Regions from separate parts of the Homo sapiens genome. Here region 1 is linked to region 2. Evidence: promoter capture Hi-C in 16 types of primary human blood cells and fetal thymus (Javierre and others, 2016). All regions are on one chromosome and are shown on one strand. Each heading gives the region's core, a stretch centred on a gene start or on the middle of the fragment in contact. The rest is flanking DNA. Distances are from core to core; before and after follow the strand shown. Region 1 overlaps HORMAD2 (HORMA domain containing 2). Region 2 holds the start of SEC14L4 (SEC14 like lipid binding 4).

Evidence for each region. Contacts are between HindIII fragments. The CHiCAGO score rates a contact against its expected background, and 5 or more counts as called.
Region 1: a fragment that was not itself captured here is called in contact with the fragment with the promoter of SEC14L4 in region 2 in 1 of 17 cell types (total CD8 T cells); the score reaches 5.4 in total CD8 T cells.

Annotation. Positions count from the first base shown.
Region 1 is chr22:30,114,618-30,121,871 of GRCh38, reverse strand. It overlaps HORMAD2 (HORMA domain containing 2), which reads right to left. Exons shown (of 11, transcript NM_152510.4): 8 at 2,825-2,892; 9 at 83-240. Among named protein-coding and RNA genes, the nearest start is that of HORMAD2, 38 kb to the right of the region's middle. The HindIII fragment of the contact is 2,545 bases long and covers 225-2,769 here.
Region 2 is chr22:30,501,123-30,508,332 of GRCh38, reverse strand. It overlaps SEC14L4 (SEC14 like lipid binding 4), which reads left to right and starts at 2,638. Exons shown (of 12, transcript NM_174977.4): 1 at 2,638-2,775; 2 at 4,581-4,656. The coding sequence starts at 2,722. RefSeq lists a silencer at 2,577-2,871. The HindIII fragment of the contact is 5,471 bases long and covers 1-3,172 here.

The sequences.
Region 1 (7,254 bases), core at 248-2,747, 390 kb after region 2:
CAGATGCCTGCAAAATCCTTTTACTTATAGAAAATATTAGCTCAGCACTTAAGGAGGAATTTGCCTAAAGTTCTCTACCTACCTGCATTATAGTAGTGGAGTTTCATAGTAAGTACAACATTATTAGGAAGTGGCTCAAGGTCCTGCATCAGTATATACAATTTACGGATCAGTAGAACACTGGCTTTCTTAATATCTTCATTGTTTGTTCCACTTTCAAAGCTTGTACTGCTGCTATGACTACACAGAAAAAAAAGCATACTTTTTGATCATATACAATAGTGGCAATCTATCCCAAAAGGAACAAAACTTTTGACTATGTGAGTAAATATAAATTAAACATTAGTATATTTTGAGACTTTTTTAGAATGTAAATTAGGGGAGCGATGGTACTTTTTGCAATGTATATACAAAGAATTTCTTAAGTAGCAAATTCCCTAAAAGCATTTAAAATACGATCTTTTTAAAAATTTGATTTGAAAAAAATCATATACCACAACAGTAAGAACAACGAATTTGGAATTAGGTGACCTGGCATCTAATATCAGCTCTGCTGATAACTAGCTGAATGACCTTGGTCAAGTCATTTAGACACACTCTAGGTCAGTTAGCTCATTTGTGAGATAAGCGTAAAGACATTTCTACAACTCTCAAGCATAAAATCAATCACCAGCTCTGGGACTTTCTACCGTCTGATTATCTCGCAAAAGTATCCCTTCCTCACTCTTGCATTGATTACTACAGTGGCTATCTAACTATTTTTCCTGCTTTCCTTCTTGTCCACACTACAAAATATTCTCCATATCACCGCTGAAATAATATTACTAATAGGAAAATCTGTTCATGTCACCTTCTTACTTAGAATTCTTCTATTATATCCATCAGTTTTCAATCAAATTCAAAGACAGTGTGTATACAATTCCTTTCACAACCCGTCATATCCTCACCTCCATCCTCATCTGCAGCTATTGCCCAGTTTCCTCTCACTCAAAGTATTTGCATATGCTGTTCACTTTGCTTGTACTGTGCTTTTCCACTTTTCTTCCTGACTGTCCTAAATTTATCCTCTAATACCTAGCTCATGCGCAGACTCTTCAAAGAAGTCTTCTCTGATAATACCCTCATCTCATCCTCAGGATAACTATTTGTCCTTCTCTAGACTGTGAGTGGCTATATCTTTCATCTCCACAGTACAGAGTTTGGTGCCCAGCTATTCAATCAACATTTGTTGAATTAATGAATGAATGAACAATTTGGACTAAATTACCTTCCAATTCTAAACTTTGTTCATTTATCTCCAAAGTTTCCTTCCACAATTAGTCTCACATTTGAGTAGTTTCCAGGAGGGACCATGACTATAATATATTTACACATGGCTGTGCACATAGTTAGCTCTTAATATGAAAAATAACCCTAAGTAATTGAAATGTTGGATTTTTCCCTAACTGATCTTTGGAGACAGTGTGAATTCATGAAGCAAACATTTATTAAGTGAATACATTAGCTCCTTTTCCAATTTTGAACAACTTAAAATTCTGCCAACCAGGATTTAACCAATTCAAATGTAGGTAACCAGAATGAAGGGCTATAGATATGTAGCTCATGGGAGCCTCCAGGACACATCAGTAAAATCATATTCAGGACTCCCATTTAAACAAATGCCTATATTTCTTCTCTAGGAAATTAATAATATGCATCACCTTCTCTCCTTAGCATGTGAAAGATTTGGCCATTTTTGTTTTACAGCTTACCTCTTGGCATATGTGCCTTCAGAACAAAAGAGTTTAATCTGGCCATCAGTGTATATTTTTGAGTTTTGGAGAGTAAAGGTAACTTTTTATGTGAGAAAACGTGTATGAAAAGTGCTGCTGTATAAGCTGTAAAGTATTATACAAATGTTAGCTAATAAAAGGTAATATTTTAATTCTCATTTTTGGAACTGATTTTCTCTTCACATTCTAGTGCTGTCTGTAGGTTTTACAAATGGAAGGATAATCAAGGGAGTGAATCTTGGAGAAAAGTCCTCAAGCTCATGGCAAATGATGAGCCAGAGCTAATAGTAGGGAAAATTGAAAATTAGGCCATGTCTCTCATCAGTCTTTCCTTTCAAGGGCATCCATCCCCCTTACTTGGATTCCTCTACTATCCAGAGCTTTTCACCATCATCTGTACCTTCCACTACTGTGCCATCTCATCAGCAATACTTAGCTCTCCATCCCCCCTGGCAGGTCTGAATCCAAAAGCTACTGGGAGAAAAATAAACGTTGCTCTTCAATGTCCTTGTGTTTGCTATTTAACCCATTAGTAACCTAAAACTTGGAATTTTCGACTTCATAAGGAAACTGCAGTGCTTTCTAATCTTTTCATACAAGGACACAAGGAAATGATATTTATATGACATACTGGGGTAAGCAAATGAGAATATTTGTGCATACGGGCAAATAGTCCAAGGGTATTATCTACCCTAGGCACAGGCTGGCTATATCGAGGTGGAAAGGATCGCTATCTAGGCATAGCAGTTGAGAAACTTTGAATTAATGGCTAGACAGAGCCTTATGGAGTTATTCAATCAATAGCGTGTAGGCAACCTTATTGACATAATTTCTACCTTTGTGCTGCATGCCATTTTCTCTATTCCCACCAGCTTAATCCATGGATTTCAGGAATGTAAACAATTGTTGCAGCCCCTTTTTATAATAGTGGTTTTCTGTAGGGTTTGTGGGGAAATGTGTAAAGAAGTATAAGGCCTTTCTCTGGCCTCAAGAAGCTTATGTTTACCTCAATCCTATTTATTTCTCATGTTCATTAAGCAGTTAGATTCTACCTGTCAAAATCCATAGTGGCTCCTTCTTTCGTGTATTTGAATTTGAACTGGTACATCTCAGTCACCTTCTACAAAAACCAAAGGAAATAAAGAAAAAAAAGAATTTAGAAAAGAAATCCAGAATCTTACCTGATCATAAGTAAGGAACATTTTCACTGTATATCTACTGTACTTCCTATATAGCTGTTTGTTTCACAGTATCACATTATTCAAGAGTAATATTTCCAAATATAAAGACAACCTAGTTTTTCTCCTCCATGCTAAAAATAAATTAGATGAAAGATACTATTATTACCATTTTAAAGCTGGAAAAACAAAATCACAGAGTCAAATATCTAACCAAACTAGGTAAACAACAGTGGAAACAGTTGAGAAACCATTCATTCATGTAACAAATATTGTATTGAATGTCTACTTTGTGCCAGTCACTGGAGTCACAGCGGTGAACAAGACAGAAAAGGTCCCTGTTTTTCTGGAATATACATACAATCCAGTAGGGGAAATAGTCAGTAAATAAGTAAACAAATGAAATAAGCTAATTCCGATAGTGTAAGTGCTGTGAACAAGAAGCAGATGCTGTGATAGAGAGGTACATGAAGGGGACAAGTGCTGCTTTGGTTTGGAAGGGCCAAGGAAGGCCTTGCTGAAGAGGTGAGGTTTGAACTGAGCCTCAAGGGTCAGTTATGTGCAGATCTTGGGGGTGGGGTGCCTCAGGCAGAGGGAACAGCAATGCAAAGGCTCTGAAGTGGGGAGGGATGCCTCTTCTAGGGTCAGAGAGGAGGCCCAGTGGCTGGAAACCAGTGAGCGAGGGGGAGAACCCAGGAAATGAGGTGATAAAGGAGACTATGGGGCCTTGTTGGCTATGGTAAGGGGTTTGGATTTCATTCTAAGTAAGCTAGAAGTCTACGGAAGAGTTTTAAGCAGGTGAGTGATTTGTATTTTTTAAACATCATCTTGGCTCCTTTAAAAGTGCAGAGGGGAAGAAATAAAAACCATGAGAGCAATTAAGAGTCTACTGCAGTAATTCAGGGAAGACTATAATGGCAATAGGAAAATTACAAAAATTAGAAAAGGAGCCCTGATCTCTGATATCAAGTCTTGTTTTTTCAGTCCTGCACTGAAAACTAGATGCTACTACTGCTATCTGCTCTCCTCACTGTTAAGAAAACTAGAAATAAAGAGGGACAAATTTCCTCATAAGAGATAGATTCCATTTAAAATAAAATGAATGTCTGGCTGGGCATGGTGGCTCACGCCCATAATCCCAGCATTTTGGGAGACCGAGGTCATTTTGGCAGATCACCTGAGGTCAGGAGTTCAAGACCAGCCTGGCCAATGTGGGAAAACCCTGTCTCTACTAAAAATACAAAAATTAGCCGGGCGTGGTGGTGTGCGCCTGTAATCCCAGCTACTCAGGAGGCTGAGGCAGGAGAATCGCTTGAACCCAGGAAGCAGAGGTTGCAGTGAGCCTAGACTGTTCCTCTGCACTCCAGCCTGGGTGACAGAGCGAGACTCCATCTCAAAAAATAGAATAGAATAGAAGGAAAGAAATAATAAAATAAACTGAAATATAAAAATAAATAAATAAAATAACTAAATTAAATTTTAAAAATAAATAAATAAAATAAACATCTAGTAGTTGAAGCAAATGTTTGGCCCAGATATGTCATACAGTATGTCCACAGAGCTGGAGAAGTACTAATGACAAGTAAACAGTATAAGCTCAAAACAGAACACAAAAAATGTCCTTTATTCATCTGGTTCAGTATTTGATCCTTGACAATGTGAAAATGAGGATGTCAGACTGATCAGAAAAAGTCTCAGTGTTTCTGTTACTTTAAGCCTCCCAGCTCTGCTGATCTTAAACCTTAACATGAAACTTAATTACAGGTGATCAGATCTTGGGAAAATTGGCTCATGATGCTTAAACTCTAAGGAGATTGATTTGTAATGGAGTTAATTTTAAAAGATAAAAGTATTTTCTGAATAAGACAGCCTACTTGAGAAATCAAATCAAGTTCAGAAAACTGCTTTGTAAATACAATAGGAGAGACAGATGAGATTAGAGGAGCCTATAGCAACAGGTTCACTCCAGATAGGCGAGATGAACAGAGTCCTCTCTTAGCCAATGCTGGGTGTAATTGCTCTGCCAAGCAAACAATGCTCATTCTTCCTGCCTGCCCATGTTTCTCAATCAACTCTAGCTTTTTAATGCTCTGAGTGATCTTTTGTTTTTTTAAATTGTAACAAGAGTAGGTTGTTTTAGTAGTTGATAATTTTATTTACACTTTATTATTTGATCCCTGAAGCAACTAATAAAAGAGTTATAGTTATAATTGTTTTACAGAAGATGCTAATCCTTAATTAACTTCAGTCTGACTCTGGCTTATCTAGGAAAGTATATTTACAGCAGGCACTATTCTTAACACCTCATATAACACTTTTCAGACTAATGTGTTGCCTAATAAAGATGAACCATTGAACTGCTCATCAGTGGTTTCTATGAATCATACTAAATATAGTCACATAGGCCAAAGCAGCAGCAACATATGCAGCCTCTCCTTCTCCCTCCACATTCCAACCCATTGGCAAGACTTTTCAGGTCTATCTCTAAAGCAAATTGCAAGTCCATCTGATGCTCATTCTCTGTTCTGCAGCCAAAAGTAGTTTTTGAAAATACAAATCAGACCATGTCACTCATTTTCTTAAAAACCCCCATTAGCTTCTCACCACCCTTAAAATAAAATCCAAAAGTTATCTTGATTTGCAAGGCCCTACCCATCTGTCCCCTGTCTGCCTCTCTAACCTTATCTCTGGCCACTTTCCCTTGCACTCAGCTAAGCTCCAGGCTCATGGCACCTTTTCTATGCTCAAACACCCAAGATTCCTTCCTGTCTTAGGGCCTTTGCACAGCTATATTCTGGAACATGTGGTCTCCGGTTAATGATAATAATAATATTCAGGCACTGCCCTAAATATTTCACAAGTTCATCTCCTTGTGTAGCCAACACTCTGAAGTAGACATTAGTCTCATTATTGATGTAGCTAGTAAGTGGTAGAACTGCGATTTGACGCCAATGCCTGTGATGTTAACTGTGGTGTTATTTGGCCTGTCACATGCCATTGCCCTTCACAGACTTGCATGGGCTGACTCCTTCTGGTTATTCATCTCAGCTCAAACAGTAGCCTCTCAGGGATGCCTCCTAGGAACTGCCCAATCTAACACAGCCATCCAATCCCTCCTTCTTCATTCTCCACTTCAGCACTCTCTAGTACATCACCTGTTTAAAAAATTTTCTTCATAGCACTATGTCTATCTGAAATTGTTTGTACTAATTTTTATTTATTTATTTATTGTTTATCCTACCTCATAAGAACGTAGGCTTCTAGAGAGCAGGGATCTTGCCTATCCCATTCACCCCTGTGTTTTTATACCTTGAACAGTGCTAGGCACATAAAAGGAACCCAATTAATATTTGCTGAATGAATAAATATTTGGCCAAGGTAGAGTTCATGCTTACTTAGGATTTCATCCTACAACGATTTTTTTCTAAAATAAAGTATCTAAAAGTATATTGTGGCTAGAAATGGACACTACTTATAGTTAAGTTTATGAGGCAATCTATTAAAGGTGAGTGTTGGCCAAGTGCAGTGGCTCACACCTGTAATCCCAGCATTTTGGGAGGCTGAGGCAAGGGGATCCTTTGAGACCAGCCGGGGCAACATAACCCCACATTTGCAAAAATTTTAAAAAATAACTGGGCATTGTGGCGAACAACTGCAGTCCCAGCTACTTGGGAAGCTGAGGTTGGAGGATCGCTTGGGCCTAGAAGGTCAAGGCTGCCATGAGCCAAGATCACACCACTGAACTCCAGCCTGGGTGATGGAGGGAGAGCCTGTCTCTTAAAAAAATAAAAAATAAAGAGTATTGATCACCTCCAATGGTAAACAGGCACAAAGGAATAGATAGTGAAACCATAAGATTTATGCCTTCACCATATTCATATATAATAATTCTATATGGTCTTATATGCATTAAGCTGTGTAAATCTTATTTACATTTTGGCTTACATGTTTTACTAATACTTGCTACTCATTTTGTAGTGTGTTCCTATAGAAAAGCTACACTATCACTCTTCACTACTTTAGTACTTAGTTTACTTAGATGCTTAGTTACTTTCGTTGGTCATCTCTTTCATGAGATGGAGCAACCAGAACAAAACTTATAGCACAGAAGTACCATAACTTTGTAGAATGCTGAAAACTCAGTTGGCCTTCTGAACTAGGGACACACACTTGTTTGATTTAAGCCAGAGGTTCTCAATTGTTATACCATGACATACTCTTCACAAGAGTGCTGCAAATTTTAATCCAACTGTCTAGTGTATTTTTGCTTCAGGCATATATAAACATTGTTATTGTTTGTGCAA
Region 2 (7,210 bases), core at 1,389-3,888:
TGTGAACTTAAAACTGTCCTAAAAAATAACAATTTAGCTGGGCACTGTGGCTCATGCCTATAATCCCAGGACTTTGGGAGGCTGAGGCGGGAGGATCGCTTGAGCTCGGGAGTTTGAGACCAGCCTAGGCAGCATGGCAAAACCATGTTTTGTATTTTTCTTCAAAAAAATACAAAAATTAGCCGGATGTGGAGATGCACATCTGCAGTCCCTGCTACTGGGGAGGCTGAGGTGGGAGCACTGCTTGAGCTTCAGGGGTGGGGGGCGGTGGAGCTTGCAGTGAGCGGAGATTTTGCCACTGCACTCCAGCCTGGGTGACACATTGAGACCCTGTCTTAAAAAAAGAAAAAAAATTATCATTATAAATAATTCAAAATTATTAAAACATCAAAAGAAACAGGTGAAAGTAATATTAATAACATATTTTATTGTCCTATTATATTCAAAAATATCACTTAATATATAATCATTTATATAAAATTAATTAATGAGGCTAGGAGCAGTGGCACACGCTTGTAATACCAGCAATTTGGGAGGCTGAAGCAGATGGATGGCTTGAGCTCAGGAGTTTGAGACCAGCCTGGCTAACATAGCAAAACCCTGTGTCTATAAAAAAATAAAAATAAAAATAAAAATAAATTAGCCGGGTGTGGTGGGGTGAGAATGTAGTCCCAGCTACTCAGGAGGCTGAGGTGGGAGGATCACTTGAGCCCGTGAGGTCAAGGCTGCAGTGAGCCATGATTGCACCACTGCACTCCAACCTGGGTGACAGAGTGAGATGCTGTCTCAGTACATAAATAAATAAAATTAGTTAATGAAACATTTTACTTTTTCTGGTACTAAGCCATCAAAACTTGGTTTGTATTTTACAATTACAGCATGTCTCTATGCTTGTTATGACAAGCCACGTTGTCTGGGCTCAAAAGCCTCTGTGGCTCACGGCCACTGGGTTAGTCCTTTCGGGACTAGAGCTTGGTTTGATTCCATGGGAGGACAGAGGGAACAGGGTCTTGTGGCCTGTTTTACTCTCTCCTTCATCTTCACGTCCCCTCTACTCCTCTCTTGAAAATTCACACCCAGCCAACTTCTGTTTTCTTTTTTTGAGACAGAATCTGGCTCTGTCGCCCAGGCTGGAATGCAGTGGTGCCATCTTGGCTCATTGCACCCTCAACCTCCCAGGTTCAAGCAATTCTTGTGCCTCAGCCTCCTGAGTAGCTGGAACTACAGGCGTGGACGACCACACCCAGCTAATTTTTGTATTTTTAGTAGAGACAGGGTTTCACCATGTTGGCCAGGATGGTCTCAAACTCCTGACCTCAAGTGATCCGCCTGCCTTGGCCTCCCAAAGTGCCAGGTGCCAGGATTGCAAGCATGAGCCACCGCGCCTGGCTGAACTTTTTTCTTGCTTTTCCTAGTGATCTCCGCCTGGCTCTCTTGTGTCAGCCAGAGTGGCCTTTTGGCTCTCCGCCCACTCTGTCACTCTGCCCAGGGCTTCCATTGGTCCACGGCTGGCACCTTGCATGCCTCCACCTTCAGACTGTGGCTCTCACCCAGGAGCTCCGCACTTGGGACACCCTAGGATCTCCACCCCTGCAGCTCCCAGCTCTGGTGACAGCCTCAGTAATAACACAATTCTGAAATATATTCCTACCAGCCAGCACTTACTGAGCAGGCAACGCCAGACATTCTGCTGACCCAGGGTGCGTCCTCTTATCCTTCCAACCATCTTGAGGGCAGGAACCATTTTGCACATGAGGCTGTCCTATCAGTCAGTGAGCACTGACAGGTCCCAGGCTGTGTTCAAGGTCAGGGGAAGGAGCTTGGGGGTCATTAGACAAAAGCCCTGGGGGTCCTAGAGGGTTGAGCCAGGTTTATTAAAAATTCCTCCATGTTGGCCAGGTATGGTGGTTCACATCCCTAATCCCAGCACTTTGGGTGGCGGAGGTTGGAGGATTGCTTGAGGCCAGGAGGTCCAGACCAGCCTGGTCAGCATAGCAAAACCCGGTCTCTATTTTATTCAAAATAAGAAAAAGAAAAAAAAAATTTTTTTTTTTTTTGAGACGGAGTCTCACTCTGTCACCCAGGCTGGAGTGCAGTGGCGCGATCTCGGCTCACTGCAAGCTCCGCTTCCCGGGTTCACGCCATTCTCCTGCCTCAGCCTCCCGAGTAGCTGGGACTACAGGCGCCCGCCACCACGCCCAGCTAATTTTTTGTATTTTCAGTAGAGACGGGTTTTCACCATGTTAGCCAGGATGGTCTCGATCTCCTCCTGACCTCGTGATCCGCCCGCCTCGGCCTCCCAAAGTGCTGGGATTACAGGCGTGAGCCACCGCGCCTGGCCCAAAAAAAAAAAAACATTTAAAAAAAAATTTCCTCCATTTTGCTGGAAAGAGGATCTCAGTGTATTCCCTTTCCTGCCACCTGCGAACAGGCGGGAGCCCCCGCAGTAAGGAGGCCTGGAGGTGGCTGCCTCCAGCTGCCCCAGGCCACTCTCCCGGCAGGTCACCTCCCTGTCCCAAGTAGGGTGCGCTTGGTGACCGCAGCAAAAAATCCTGGAGAGGAGGAGAGAACTGGGCGGGGCGGGGCAGGCCCAGTGCCTCTCCCGTCGGGGCGGGACCAACATCTGGCCCAGGAGGCACAACCAGGCGGCAGCGGATACAAGGCCAGGCGGCGGCGGGCGGGCGGACCTGCGCCCTGAGCCTTTCTGCGCCCGCGGGCACCATGAGCAGCCGAGTCGGGGACCTGAGCCCCCAGCAGCAGGAAGCGCTGGCCAGGGTGAGGAGCATCGCGGGCTGGGAGGCTTGAGGAGGGGCCCTGAGCAGCCTGGCACTGCCCAACCCGGCTGGAGCCCCCATGGTACAGACTGGAACACCGAGCCTGGAGAGAGCGCCTCTGTTCTGCCCTCTGGTCCAGCGTGCGGTTGTTGAGGCGGCTACGTGCAGCACGCGGGACAGGGGCCCATCTCTGCGTGACCAGGAGCCGAATCCAGTCTTCTGACCTTGCGTGCTCTCCACCACCCGGCCCTGGTCCTTGTTCCCCGGTTGTGGGGGAGGGAGTGGCGCTGCCATCCGGCTGCGGGGGCAGCCTTGGGTAGACAGACTGCTTTTCATGTCCAGGTTGCAACATTTGTTTGTTTGGCTTCTCTTTGTGATTTGTTCTTAGGGCCCAAGCTTCTCTGTAATCTTTTTTTTTTTTTTTTTTGAGATGGAGTCTTGCTCTGTCGTCCAGGCTGGAGTGTAATGGCGCAATCTCGGTTCACTGCAACCTCCACCTCCTGAGTTCAAGCGATTCTCCTGCCTCAGCCTCCCAAGTAGCTGGGGCTACAGGTGCCCGCCACCACACCCGACTAATTTTTGTATTTTTAGTAGAGACGGGGTTTCACCATATTGGCCAGGCAGGTCTCTTGGACAGGCTGGTCTCGAACTCCTGACCTTGTGATCCATCCGCCTTGGCCTCCCAAAGTGCTGGGATTACAGGTGTGAGCCACTGCGCCCGGCCTCATATTTCTAATCCCAAATTTGGATTCACAGATTCACCTTCAAACCCAGCCTTTGCCTTCAGCTCTGTTGGTCCCCAGGGAAGTGAGATCTCCTCTCTCTCAGACGCAACAGATGCCCTGATAAGGCATTCCTGGCTTCTCTTTCAGCCCCTGTCTGTTGACCTCTGCCTCTGTTTTTTTTCCACAAAGCCTCCATTGTCCGGGGCATCAGGCAGTCCACGCTGGCTGAGTGCTCACATATATCTGACACCTGCTCGGAGCCAAGCCTGCTAAGTGTTTTACGTGCACAGACTCCTTTGATTGGTACAAGTTTATTTTTATCCCCATTTCAGAGATAAGGAAACTGAGGCTTAGAGAGGTTTGGTAACTTGCCTCTAAATCTAAACCCTCAAGATGCAGTATCAGGGACAACATTCCTAAAACCGCCTAGCTGGCCTGCATCAGACTCTCCCAGGGATCCTTGTAGAAATAAGGCTGTCAGTCGGGCATGGTGGCTCACGCCTGTGATCCCAGCACTTTGGGATACTAAGGCGGGTGGATTGTTTGAGCCAAGGAGTTTGAGACCAGCCTGGGCAACATAGCAAGATCCCATCTCTACAAAAAGTACAAAAATTAGCTGGGCATCTTGTGTGCCTGTGGTCCCAGCTACTTGGGAGTCTGAGCTGGGAGGATCTATTGAACCCGGGAGGCACGGGTTGCAGTGAGCCAAGATCACGCAACTACGCTCCAGCTTGGGCGATAGAGTGAGATCCTGTTTCAATAATAATAATAATAATAATAATAATATAAAAATAATAATAAAATAAAAATTAAAAATAAGGATGCCAGGGCCCCACCTTAGACATGTAGAATGGGAGTCCAGTGTGTAGGGCACTCCCAAATTTTGGGAAGGACCCAACTCTTTTTCCTATGTTGGGCTGGAGGGTGCCCTATTTTCAGATGGCAAAGTCGTTCAGGGCAGCACCCTGCATGGTCTTCTGGTGGAGTTGACTGGTGGATGATGTGGGAAGGGTTAGGGGCGGGGTTGGTGGCCCCCGAGGTCATGAGAGCTCCGCCGACCATCAGATCCTCCTCCGCTCAGTTCCGGGAGAACCTCCAGGACCTGCTGCCCATACTGCCCAATGCTGATGACTACTTCCTCCTGCGCTGGCTGCGAGGTGAGGCTTGCAGGGGTCAGGGGACGCAGAAAGGGAGGGAAGGAAGGAGGGTCTCAGGAGAGGAGTGGGAGACTTTGAGGGAATGGAGCTGTAGGGTAGTAAAGAACACAGGCTTGCCGGGCCCGGTGGCTCACACCTGTAATCCCAGCACTTTGGGAGGCCGAGGCAGGCAGATCACCTGAGGTCGGGAGTTCGAGACCAGCCTGACCAACATGGGGAAACCCTGTCTCTACTAAAAATACAAAATTAGCTGGCTTGGTGGCACATGCCTGTAATCTCAGCTACTCAGGAGGCTGAGGCAGGAGAATCGCTTGAACCCGGGAGGCAGAGGTTGCGGTAAGCCGAGATCCCGCCATTGCACTCCAGCCTGGGCATCAAGAGTGAAGCTCCGTCTCAAAAAAAAAAAAACAAAAAAACAAAAAACACAGGGTCTGGAATCAGCCTGCTCTGACTAGAATCTGAGCTCCCCTGTGTATGAGCACAGCACAAAACCCCACTGAGCCTCAGTTTCTTCATCTGTCAAGCAAGGATGAGGCAACAGGTGGGCACAGAGTCCAGGTGAGGTTACAGTTAACAGCCAGGACATCCTCAGGCCTCTGGCCTGGCCAGCCCTTGGGGCAGATGTTGCAGAGCACTGTTTTCAGTACTTGCCTTTGGGTGTACCTCCAGTTCCCCGAGGACAGGGCTCTGTTGTCCCCTAAAGGAACCGAGGTGCCCTAGTGCACTGAGCAGGTGCCCAGCAAACACTTAAGGAAGTGGATTTAGCGAATGCTAGAGAAGCAGTTTCTTCTAGGAATTACAGCAGCAGTCTAAAAAAATAATAACAAGCCAGATGCGATGGCTCACACTTATAGTCCCAGTGCTTTGGGAGGCTGAGGCAGGCAGATTTCTTGAGCTCAGGAGTTCAAGACCAGCCTGGGCAACATGGCGAAACCTCATCTCTACAAAAAATACAAAAATTAGCCGGGTGAGCTGCCGAGCACCTGTAATCCCAGCTACTCAGGAGGCTGAGGTGAGAGGATCACTTGAGCCTGGGAGGTGGAGGATGCAGTGAGCTGAGATTGTACCACTGCACTCCAGCCTAGGCGACAGAGTGAAACCCCATCTCAAAATAATAATAACAGACACTGCCCCAGAGCTTAGGGAAAAATTCATCTTAACTCATTACACCTCATGGAATGGATTTTGAACTTGAGATGAGTGAGAAGTCAGGAGTCAGCCCGGAAAGCATACATACAGTGCAGGGTTTAAAACGCTGGCTTTGGAATTGGGCAGAGCTGTGACTGAGTTCCAGTGCTAGCATGTGCCTGTGGCAAGCCAGTCATTGTCCCAACCTCACTTTCCTCTTCTGTGTAATGGGCATAATACTGGTCCCTACCTTCAGGGCGCTGTGAGTCAAATGAGGTCGCAGATGCACACAGTACCTGAGAAAAGGAAGTCCCTACCAGGGACTAATTCTTCCTCTGATTTGTTCTGTCTGTTTTTGTTTTTTTGTTTTTTTTCAATATTTTGGCCAGGCCCTGTGGTTCACGCTTGTAATCCCAGCACTTTGGGAGGCCGAGGCGGGCAGATCACTTGAGGCCAGGAGTTCGAGACCAGCCTGGCCAACATAGTGAAACCCCATTTCTACAAAAATACAAAAATTAGCTGGGTGTGGTGGCACGTGCCTGTAGTTCCAGCTACTCAGGAGGCTGAGGCACGAGAATCACTTGAACCCAGGAGGCGGAGGTTGCAGTGAGCGGAGATCATGCCACTGCACAACAAAGCAAGACTCTGTCTTAAAAAAAAAAGTATGTGTATGTATATATATATATATATATATATATATATGTGCGTGTGTGTGTATATATATATAAAAACTTTAATTTTTAGAATAGTTTTAGATTTTCAGAAAATTGCAAATATAGTGCAAAAAGTTCCCACATACTCTGCACCTAGTTTTCCTTATTATTAACATCTTCTTCTTATGATGATGATGGTACATTTGTTAGAATTAATAAACCAATATGGATACATTATTATTAACTACAGTCCGTATATTATTTGGATTTCCTTCATTTTTCTCTTCCAGGATCCCATCCAGGATCCCACATTATATTTAGTCATCTTGCCCTCCTTAAGCCCCCTTGGCTGTGGCACTTTCTATTTGTTTTTGACAAGGAAATATGTCATTGCCCCCAGCCTGGACCAAAGAAGGAGTTGGGACAGTTGATTTCTTGAAGCCCCTTGATACAGCATCAGCTCTCTCTCTTCCTTTAGTATCTTTTTGGGTTTAAAACCCAGCTTTTGGGGTGCTTGGTGTGCCCTTGATAAAGGAGTGAGATTGCAGATACCTAGGCTTCCAGGTCATAGGAAAGAAAAAGGATCCAAGATTGGGAAGGGGGCTGGGTGTCCTGATGCCTCCCACCTCATGCCATGGGTGATGGGACCTGCTGGCATGGCCCCGTCGTCCACTTCAGCGTCAGCTCCGCTAGTCCCGGCCTCACTAACCCAAGACCCAGGCAAAGGGGAGGGCTACTGCTGAGGCTGAGCTTGGTAGAGGACCCTCTCCCGG